Linked DNA regions of Homo sapiens: regions 1 and 2 are each linked to region 3. The links are contacts of gene promoters, found by promoter capture Hi-C in human tissues and cell types (Jung and others, 2019). All regions are on one chromosome and are shown on one strand. Each heading gives the region's core, a stretch centred on a gene start or on the middle of the fragment in contact. The rest is flanking DNA. Distances are from core to core; before and after follow the strand shown.

Region 1 (3,074 bases), core at 548-3,047, 160 kb before region 3:
CCTTCCCCAGTAGGCAATTAACACCTGGGTTCTAGCCAATGGGTAATTTTCTCTCTGGTCTTAAAATGTCCTGGGGAGGCTGGGGTGTGAGCATTTTCCCAAGGTTTGAGCACTCTTTGCAGCTCCCCAACCAAGGAATGGTAAACAGCTATGTGTTGGTGCTTGCCCTGCACTTGTGGGAGGCCCTGGAGGCTTGGACTTGAGTTTGTTTTGTGAACTCTTTAAGACTCTGAGGTGAATAAATCAATGTGAGCAAAAAGTTGTATTAAAAGGCCCCTTCCGCCCCCCCCAAAAAAATATCCTAGCAATAAAGGGACGCAGTTGTTTTGTTTTGTTTTTTTTTTCCCCCCTGAAAGCAAGTCCTCCCTGTGTGCCTTTTTTTTTTTTTTTTTTTGAAGCGGAGTCTCGCTCTGTCACCCAGGCTGGAGTGCAGTGGCGCGATCTCAGCTCACTGCAGGCTCCGCCCCCGGGTTCACGCCATTCTCCTGTCTCAGCCTCCCAAGTAGCTGGGACTACAGGCGCCCGCCACCACGCCTGGCTGATTTCTTTTTGTATTTATGGTAGAGAGGGGGTTTCACCGTGTTAGCCAGGATGGTCTTGATCTCCTGACCTCGTGATCTGCCCACCTCAGCTTCCCAAAGTACTGGGATTACAGGCGTGAGCCACTGCGCCCAGCCCCCTGTGTGCCTTTTTGATACTCAGAGCTGTCCTGGGATATAATGACTATACTATGGATGACAAAATTTGGGAAACATCTGATTGGAGAAAGAATTTGTATGTCACTTTATGAGAAGCAGCTGGGAGATGTAGAAGTATGGGCATTTCAAGGACAGTTTCATGACTGAGGCCAGTGTCAACCTGAAAAATATGGAACACGTGATCTAGAGGCAAATAATGGTTATAAATGAAATGCCACCAAGAACTTAATCTAATTGAGAAGACAAAGTTACTATTTGTGAGACAGAAGCTAGCAGTTTGTTGAGCCATGATTTTGATTCTTTGTCAGGGGGTCAAGAATGGAGAAAAAATTTAGAAGTCAGGGAAGCTATCAGGAGAAGGTAGGATTTGAGCTGGACCTTGAAGAACAAGAAACAGTATCCCTAAGTGGAAGGCAGATGGGAAGGTATTTCGGATCTCAGGAACAGCAGGAGTTAAAGCTTGAGATGGGATGGGGTAGGTGCTTGAGTGTGTGCTGGCTCCTGCAGCTGGTGACGGGTGGATGCCTGCTGGGAGCAGTGAGCTCCCAGGTGGCCAGATGGCCACTGGCTCTGATGAGACAGCAGCCTTGGGGTTTGGTTTTCTGGGTAGTAGGGAGCAGGGTAGGTCTTGAGTGGGTGCCACCTCAAGTGTTTGAGAAGGGGGCCCTGCGGAGTAATCTCTGTGGGTGGGGGCCTGGCCCAGACTGGCTTCCTGAGACTGGCTAGATAGCAGTTCTAGAGATGGAGAATGAAGAGAAGCCAGAGTTGAGTTGTGTTTAGGGAGTAAAGGGGGCCTCAGTGCTGGCTGGGAAGTTTGGATTTGACTCCCTGGGAGCCTGCAAATCATGTGGCCTGGAAAGCTAGAAAAATGCCCATGATGGGGCCCTACCCCAGACCAATCAAGGGGGAGCCAGTAATTTTTAGAAGTGCCCCCAGTTAATTCTCATAGTCTGTGTGGGTTGAGAAGCTGAGCTGTGTGCTTGGAGGAGCCTCTGGGAGTGTCAGGGATTGGAAGGGGAAAATTGAAGCCAGAAGAAGCCTTTGAAGTAATGTGGTGCGGGGACTGGGTTCCTGAGCTATTGTAGAATGACTGTGGATTGGCTGGTGGAATCAGGGCTGGAGAGGAACTGGCAGAAATGATCACCCTGGCTGAAATACGCCTCTAAGCTACCTTGGTAAATAAAGAAGGACAGCTTAGTAGAAAGTTTAAACAAGGGATGGGCAGAAGAGACTGTGATCCACCTATTTGGCAAGCCTCCTTTCAACCTGCATTTTAGCCACAGAGCAGGCACAGCAGGTTCTTATCTGTTCTCTCAAGCTTGCTAGCCAAGTTCCTCCCCACACCCTAAATTGTAATGACTGCAGCAGATGGTACATGTAAAATTTTAAATTACATTTCTTTAATTTTATTAAAGATAGTTGTAATGTGGAGTTACTAATTTAGATAGATTCAGTTTATTAGTCAAAGTCTAGAAGTGGGATTTTACATGGTACAGTTAATGCATGTCACAGTGTCATTGTAATATATGGTATTTCAGTCAAAAAATGAGTTTATAGTCCACTTCATTTATTCTTTACTTAATGCTTATTGAGCACATATGTATTATGTGCTGTTGGCTGGGAACGCCTGAGTGAATAAAATTTAAGTTCCTCTTACATTTCAAAATAGTTTTTGGTCTGCAGATGGTGGCTCTTGCCTCAGTAACAAGTAATATTAGCTTTGGGAGATAGCTGGGGGAGGGAAGTTTAGAAAGTGGTGTCAGACACTAGAATGGAACCTGGGAACCAGAGAAGGCTTCGAGGAAATAGTATGTGAGTCGAGTCTTGAAGGAAAAGTGGGAGTTCTCAGGGACAGAGATGAGAGGATCCCTGGCCGAGGGAGCTGCATTATGCAGAGGCCTGAGCTGAGCAAGGAGGGCGCAGAGGAGGAAGAGCTGGACATGTGGCAGAGGCCCAGCTGCCTGCTGACCAGACTCTCCAGGCAGGACAGGCGAGCTTGGTGAGGTTTGACTCATGGGCTGTGGTTTTCACGTAGCCTTTTGGCGGTGAGTGGGCAGGACTGTGGGCCTTCCACCCCACCTCTAATCAGAGCATCTCTGTGCTGGTGAAAGTGGGGAGCTAAAAAGAGCCCACTTGAGAAGTGTTCCTCTGCTGTTGAAGAACAACCGAAGTTATCTGGAGCTGCAGTGAGCAAGCTGGCACCCTGAGGGTGGCTGGGAGGGAGAGGTTGGAGGTTTCTTCCAGAGGACCTGAAGAGCCCTCACTTTTTTCTGTTTGCAGTGAGATGGATGTTCCCTCCTCTACTCCAGGCCAGTTTCCCAAGGCCTCTGGGTAATGTCTATGTGATTAAACAGTCTCTTGGGAATAGAACTCCTT
Region 2 (3,099 bases), core at 600-3,099, 250 kb after region 3:
TCCTCAAGCGTGGCGAGAGTGGGTGCCAAGGCCAAGGAGGTGCTGAGAGCGAGCAAGGGTTGCCCGCACGCTCTCACCTCTCACCCAGCCTATAAGAGTACTTCTGCTTTCAAAAAAGACATGTCTGTGGCATGAAAACATGCCACACATACACAAAAAGTGCCCTCCTGAACTAGAGGGCAGATCCTCACACTGACTTAACATGCTGGCATTTAAGAATATCAAGAACTGAATAAAGAAAATGATCTGCCCAACTGCGGGTAGTTCATCTGTCTGAGTCAGAGGTTCTTATGCCTTCCTGGGGAGGAAGTTATGATGCCGCGAAGAAATTGGCACTGCTGAGTTCTACATGCAGTTGCTACAGGGAGGAGTCTTCATTTAGCTTTAAGCGAAATACAGCTTAAAAATATCTTACCTGTATTCTGTACATCAACTTGTGATGGATTGAGGCCAGTTCTGGTTCTTGGAATGATATTTTTCTCTTTGTTAGAGCCATTTTGTTCTAATAGCTGTGATGATCCAATCAAGAAAGATGAAATGGAAGACAGTGAGATGTCAAGGATTGAATAGGACGTAGAACCAGAAGATAGAGGTTGAAGGTACCGCTTTGCCCCTGACCAGGGGTAAATTCTTCAATAACTGACTCTGTCCGGATAAGGAGGATAATAATGCTCTACCAGCTTCAGTTACCGTGTTAGGGGATCAATAATATATGCTATGTAGATTAAGCCATAGAAAAGTTAAAGCTTGAAACATTTGTTGGGCAGCTGAACCATGAAGTGAATGAAATTAATTCGCCTTCAAGTGGAAACATGAGATCCACAAGCCAGCTTTTACTTCACACTTCCACCTTGGAGTCTTGAATACCTCTCTGTCTTCCTTGCTTGCCATCTGTTCTCTTACTTTTGATGCTGTTATTGTCCAAGATGTTCTCTCTTAGAATAGCTGGTAATGATAGCACAATGCATAGATGGGCTCAGTCCACAGAAGCTACGTGAATTCTCCCAGTAACAGATGAGGAAATTGAGGCTCAGAGATGTTCAGTAGCTTGCCTAAGGTTGCATAAGCTAGTGAGTGGCAGAGCCCAGATTCAAACCAGATACACTTCAAAAGCAAGCGCTCTCAGCTACTGTGCCGGATATACCATTCATTCAGAATAGCGTGGGCTAAGCCCACTCTGTGTTGTGAGACAGAGAACATTCAGACTAAGACATGCATGACCTGTCCTGTGGGAGCCACTCTTCACCAGAGGCACTTCTGCACACACCCGCGTCTCATGCATTTTCCCTGGTCAAATTCAACCATTTGTTCTCCTTAGTGTCTTTGTTGCTGAGCTCATGTAAAAAAACACTGGAGTCTCCAGATTAGTTCTATGTGGGTTCATGCTTCCCAGATGCCATCGGACTGTGTGTTCTCCTCTTGTCCTTGGTCAGTTCCCTCTCCCATCCCTCACAGGGACTGGTCTTGACACTCTCTGGGTTTTACTGAATGTTACATGTTTATGTTGAAGAGATTGCTGATGTTAGACGTTAGGATTTATTTGGCAGTGCAAGAGTTTGTGTTTCTCTTTCTTTGAGGATCTCTATATTGTTATTAATGGTGGTGTTGAGGAAACCACGGAGCTCCTGAAGCAGCGATTTGACCACATTTTCTATACGGGAAACACTGCGGTTGGCAAAATTGTCATGGAAGCTGCTGCCAAGCATCTGACCCCTGTGACTCTTGAACTGGGAGGGAAAAGTCCATGTTATATTGATAAAGATTGTGACCTGGACATTGTTTGCAGGTGAGTCTGGCTCTCTGATTTTCTGAGGTTTTCCCAGCACAATGGAGACTTTTCCTGACAATGTTACTCTTTGTACTTGAACCCCATACCTTATGGCTCCAAGATACATTATTAAGCTTTGGTGGTTGATGTCCTCAAGAGTAACAGGAGTCTTTCACTGTCTCTTGGCGCCACTGTCAAAAATGGTGAGCTGTAAGTCCTGACATCATGTGGTTGTCCTTAGGAATTTTAAAAAAGTTATATCTGTTCTCAAGATTACAGCTAGATCTAGCAAGAAATTTTAACGTTCTTCTGGCCAGTGATCTGTGAAGTACATAATCCAAAGTATTGTGTGTGCCTAATAAAATCTTTAAATGCCCATTTGAGAGGGTATTATGCTGATATCTTAACTGAGATCCTTTGTGGGCAAAACAAGTGTTCCTCATTTTTTAACTGTGAATAACATCTTGCATCTGAAAATTAGAAAATAAGAGGTTTCAGGTTCTCTCTGCTAAATCCGGTTTAGCTACTAAGAAGTGCCAAATCATAGAACTGACTCTGTGCTCTGGGTGGTGTGGCTTTCTCTGCCCTTCAGAGATTCCAGGTCAGGGTTCCAGGTTGGCTTCCTAAGTAGAAATCCATTTGTCAAAACCAGACACCCTCAGTTAGTGAATGTTTAGGGCATGGGTTTCTGCCCATGCATAGGAAAGGTCTTCCCAAGTGGGGCAGGGCTCCACAAAGAGGAGGATGGCCTTGGAGGCTGGCTGACATCCTGCTTTATACCTGAACATCTTGCAGGCAGAGCCAAAAGCCACAACCAGGAGAGTCTGTACCGAACTCTGGTCATCCAGGACTTTCCTTTGGCTGGACTGGAAGAGGGGAAAGGACATTGGGAGGCTGTTTCTCCTCTTTTCCTGCAGCAGGCAATGGCTTCACTGTTTACCAAGTACTGTTTGCCGTGAGCTGGCCTGAGAACTTCCCTGCTATGTAAAATATTCCACCTCATTTGGAAAATACTTTCTAAGTTCCAAACAACTGATTTAGAAATGAGTTTTTAACTTTTTTATAAAAATTGCCAGATAAATATATGAATCTATTTTAGTTGCAAGACATTCAAACAACACAATGTAACAAATGAATATTTGACTGAATTACTGAATTATATAGCTGTTCTGGATGTTTTCCCCTCAGACGCATAACCTGGGGAAAATACATGAATTGTGGCCAAACCTGCATTGCACCCGACTATATTCTCTGTGAAGCATCCCTCCAAAATCAAATTGTATGGAAGATTAAGGAAACAGTGAAGGTTTGTATTAAAAACATCTGATTCC
Region 3 (2,935 bases), core at 320-2,819:
ATTTCATGCTGGGATGGAGGCAGGTTTAGAGCTTGAATCTGAGTCCAGCGCCCACGCTTTCTCTCCTGCAAGGATGAAAGGCTACAGGGGTTGAGAAAACCCTCCCTTCTGCCCTGAAGGCAGAGCTGTGGCACGGCTCAGGCTTGCTTCCTCATCCCCTGAGTGTGAGGCTTTGCTGCCAACACACAGGGGCTTGTCCCACCTGGGGCAGGAGGAGGCAGAGTCTATGGCACTGCTTCTCTGAATCTGATTGATTCAGCCCCACAATCTCAGGCCCTCCAGACACCAAAATGAACAAGATCCAGCCCCAGCTTCAGGGGTGTCTCCACCTGCTGAAGGTGGTCTCTGCTGAACTTTTCTAGGTTCTGAATCCCACCTCACCCCAACCCTTCTGCATCCTAGCTCATAGGATGTACGAATGACTCCCGTGCCTGGACTAGTGGCTTTACATAGGTAATGGTGGCTCCTCAGAGCACAGAGAGGTGCAGTGGAGTCCCAGAGCCCCTGAGCCGAGAATCAAGCCCAGATCTGCCTGGCTCTGAAGCCTGGGCTGCGCCAAGCCTATCACATATCCCAGCCCTCAACTGTCCAAGAACAAGACCGCACCCAGTTGGGAGGGGTGAGGAAAGGAGGCTCTAGGGAGGCCACAGCACCTGCACTGGGCCTAAGAGGGTGTCCCAGGAGGGATGAGAAGGAGCAGAGCAGCCAAGCCAGGGTGCAGAGGCAGGGAAGAGTGGGGCGAGAGAAGGGTGGAAGGAAGGTTCAGCCCAGTCCGCAGGCCGGAGAGTTTGGATTTTGATCTGATGGTAGTAGGGAGACACAAAAGGTGTTTGCGCAGTGTGAGGTCATCTGTGCTTGGGGAGCCTATGCTGGCTGTGCACTGGGGAGTGGAAGGGAGGCAAGGAGCCCAGTCAAGAGGCCATTAGAAGGTCCAGAGGTGGCTCATAGTTTTGATAGATTTCATCCTGCTCAAGTTTGAGGCAGAGTGAAAGCTATTGGGAGGGAAATACACCAGAGGACACGGAGGGCCCATGAGTGCTGAAGAAGGCTGCAGCTGGGTTGGGCGTCGATGACATAAACCTGAGAGAGAGCAGGAGGATGTGCAGGGCCATGTGAAGTAGGGTCTGCATTTGGGGGCTCTGTACATAGTAGGTACTCAGTAACTGTTCATTGGATGAATGGATGAATAACTCCTTGTCTCTGGGTCAGCTCTGGTCTTACCCTCTCCTGTTTCTCACACCTCTTCTCTTTGCCCACCCTGTCCTGTGGCCCTGGGGAGACCTCAGCTGGCCCAGTAGAGGCAGTGCTGGCCCATGGTTCTGCCGGAGGCGCCTCCATGTTTGCGGGTGCACCGCACGCCTTCTCCCTCTCTGTCCCCCTCCCCCTCCCTGTCCTTATCTTTCCCTTCTGTCTCCATGGCGACTCACCACCTCGGCTTGCCTGCATCCCAGCCTCTGCCAGGGATTCTGAGCCGGGCTCCATCCCTCCCTCCTCGGAGCCCTGCTACCCGCAGCCGTGTCTCCTCCCCCTGGGGTGAGTCCAGCAGCAGCCTCCTCTTTCCTGACTGTCACATTTCTTTTCCAGCTCTGACCGGGAGTCAGCTCCTCGGGGATACCATCCCCCGACCTCACCTTCTACCTACCGCAGCCTGCTAGCCTTTCCGGGAGAAAAGGCATCCTTACCTCTGGTTGAAGGTCTCGGGGCCTCCCCCTCTGCATCCGGACCCTCTCCCCATCCCAGCCTCCCATGCCAAGGCCCGCCTTGTCAGTCACTTCCTTTTGTCATCGGCTTGGCAAACGGGCAAGTCTTCAGTCCTAAGATCGGGAAGGAGAGTGGGGTGGGAAGGGCCCTCCTTGGGCTGGGGGATGGGCCGGGGGTGGGGAGGATGAGGGGTCCCTGGAAATCCAGGGTGAAGATAGAAGTCTGGATTATGTTCTAAATCTTTTTTTTTTTTTTTTTTCTCCAAGGAGAGAAAACAGAGCTTCATGGGAAACAGCGGCAACAGTTGGTAAGTAGCAGGGCCTTCCAGGCTGGGATGGGTGCAGTGAGGCCAGGCAGGTCAGTTGAAATGGCCGGTCCTGGAACACAGAGCCCGGCAGCCCAGCCGGGAGGGCTGTCCGCCTGAGGCTGGATCCGCCAGGCTGTGGAGGGAGGGACAGGAAGAAGCAGGTGGGTGCTGCAGGGAGGCAGATGCCAGCTCAGAGCAGAGAGCGGAAGGAATCTTCTAAGATCCAGAGCCATCTGCCCAACTGCAGCACAGGCTGATGGCTTCTCCTCACTGTCCCTGTAGCATGGGGTTGTGGAGGGTATCATCCCTGGGGGCCTGGCTGAAGTCAGCACCTCATGGAGGGAGCCCCGCTGTAGAACGCCGGGAGAGGCTCTTCCCAAGCATTTGCACCAGGCACTGTGCAGACAGCTGCACACGCCTCCTCTCGGATGGCCACCCCAACGGCCCCATGAGGGGTATTGCTATCCTCTCCATTGGGACAGTTAGGAAATTGAGGCCCAGAGAGGGGAAGGAACTTGCTTGCATTTGCATGGCTGGGATGTGGTGGAGTCCATTCCACTCAGATTTTCTCCCTCTCAGACTCTCTCACCATTGCTCTGCTGCCCCCACTCTGAGGCCCCCAGGTCCTAGGACACATGTCAGTGAGGAACGGGCAGAGCTTGGCCTCTCTGGGAGCAGCTCCGCCTGTCCATGGAGGCACTGATGGAAATTGGGTTGGCACAAAGGGACCTCCACTCCCAAGCCATCAGTCTTCCACCACAACCCTGGCCGGTACCCCCTGCCCCCAATAGACATCCTGCTTTTCAATGGCCTGTTTTGCCCCACAGGTCCCATACACCTTTCCCCAAGTTGGAGCTAGGCCTGGGGCCCCAGCCCATGGCGCCCCGGGAGCTCCCTACCTGCTCCATCTGCCTGGAGAGGTTGCGC

What was found. The method cuts DNA at HindIII sites, captures the fragments that hold promoters and counts their contacts. A contact is called where the count stands out against the background at its distance.
Region 1: a contact is called between a fragment that was not itself captured here and the fragment with the promoter of RNF112 in region 3, in 3 of the 25 tissues and cell types used here (dorsolateral prefrontal cortex, mesenchymal stem cells and spleen).
Region 2: a fragment that was not itself captured here is called in contact with the fragment with the promoter of RNF112 in region 3 in 3 of the 25 tissues and cell types used here (dorsolateral prefrontal cortex, mesenchymal stem cells and mesendoderm cells).

Annotation. Positions count from the first base shown.
Region 1 is chr17:19,246,393-19,249,466 of GRCh38, forward strand. The region is part of intron 1 of EPN2 (epsin 2); the gene reads left to right. Among named protein-coding and RNA genes, the nearest start is that of EPN2, 11 kb to the left of the region's middle. The HindIII fragment of the contact is 3,795 bases long and covers 1-3,074 here.
Region 2 is chr17:19,654,789-19,657,887 of GRCh38, forward strand. It overlaps ALDH3A2 (aldehyde dehydrogenase 3 family member A2), which reads left to right. Exons shown (of 10, transcript NM_000382.3): 4 at 1,578-1,786; 5 at 2,957-3,074. Among named protein-coding and RNA genes, the nearest start is that of ALDH3A2, 7.6 kb to the left of the region's middle. The HindIII fragment of the contact is 6,920 bases long and covers 1-3,099 here.
Region 3 is chr17:19,409,663-19,412,597 of GRCh38, forward strand. It overlaps RNF112 (ring finger protein 112), which reads left to right and starts at 1,570. Exons shown (of 14, transcript NM_007148.5): 1 at 1,570-1,800; 2 at 1,968-2,008; 3 at 2,836-2,935. The coding sequence starts at 1,747. The HindIII fragment of the contact is 25,812 bases long and covers 1-2,935 here.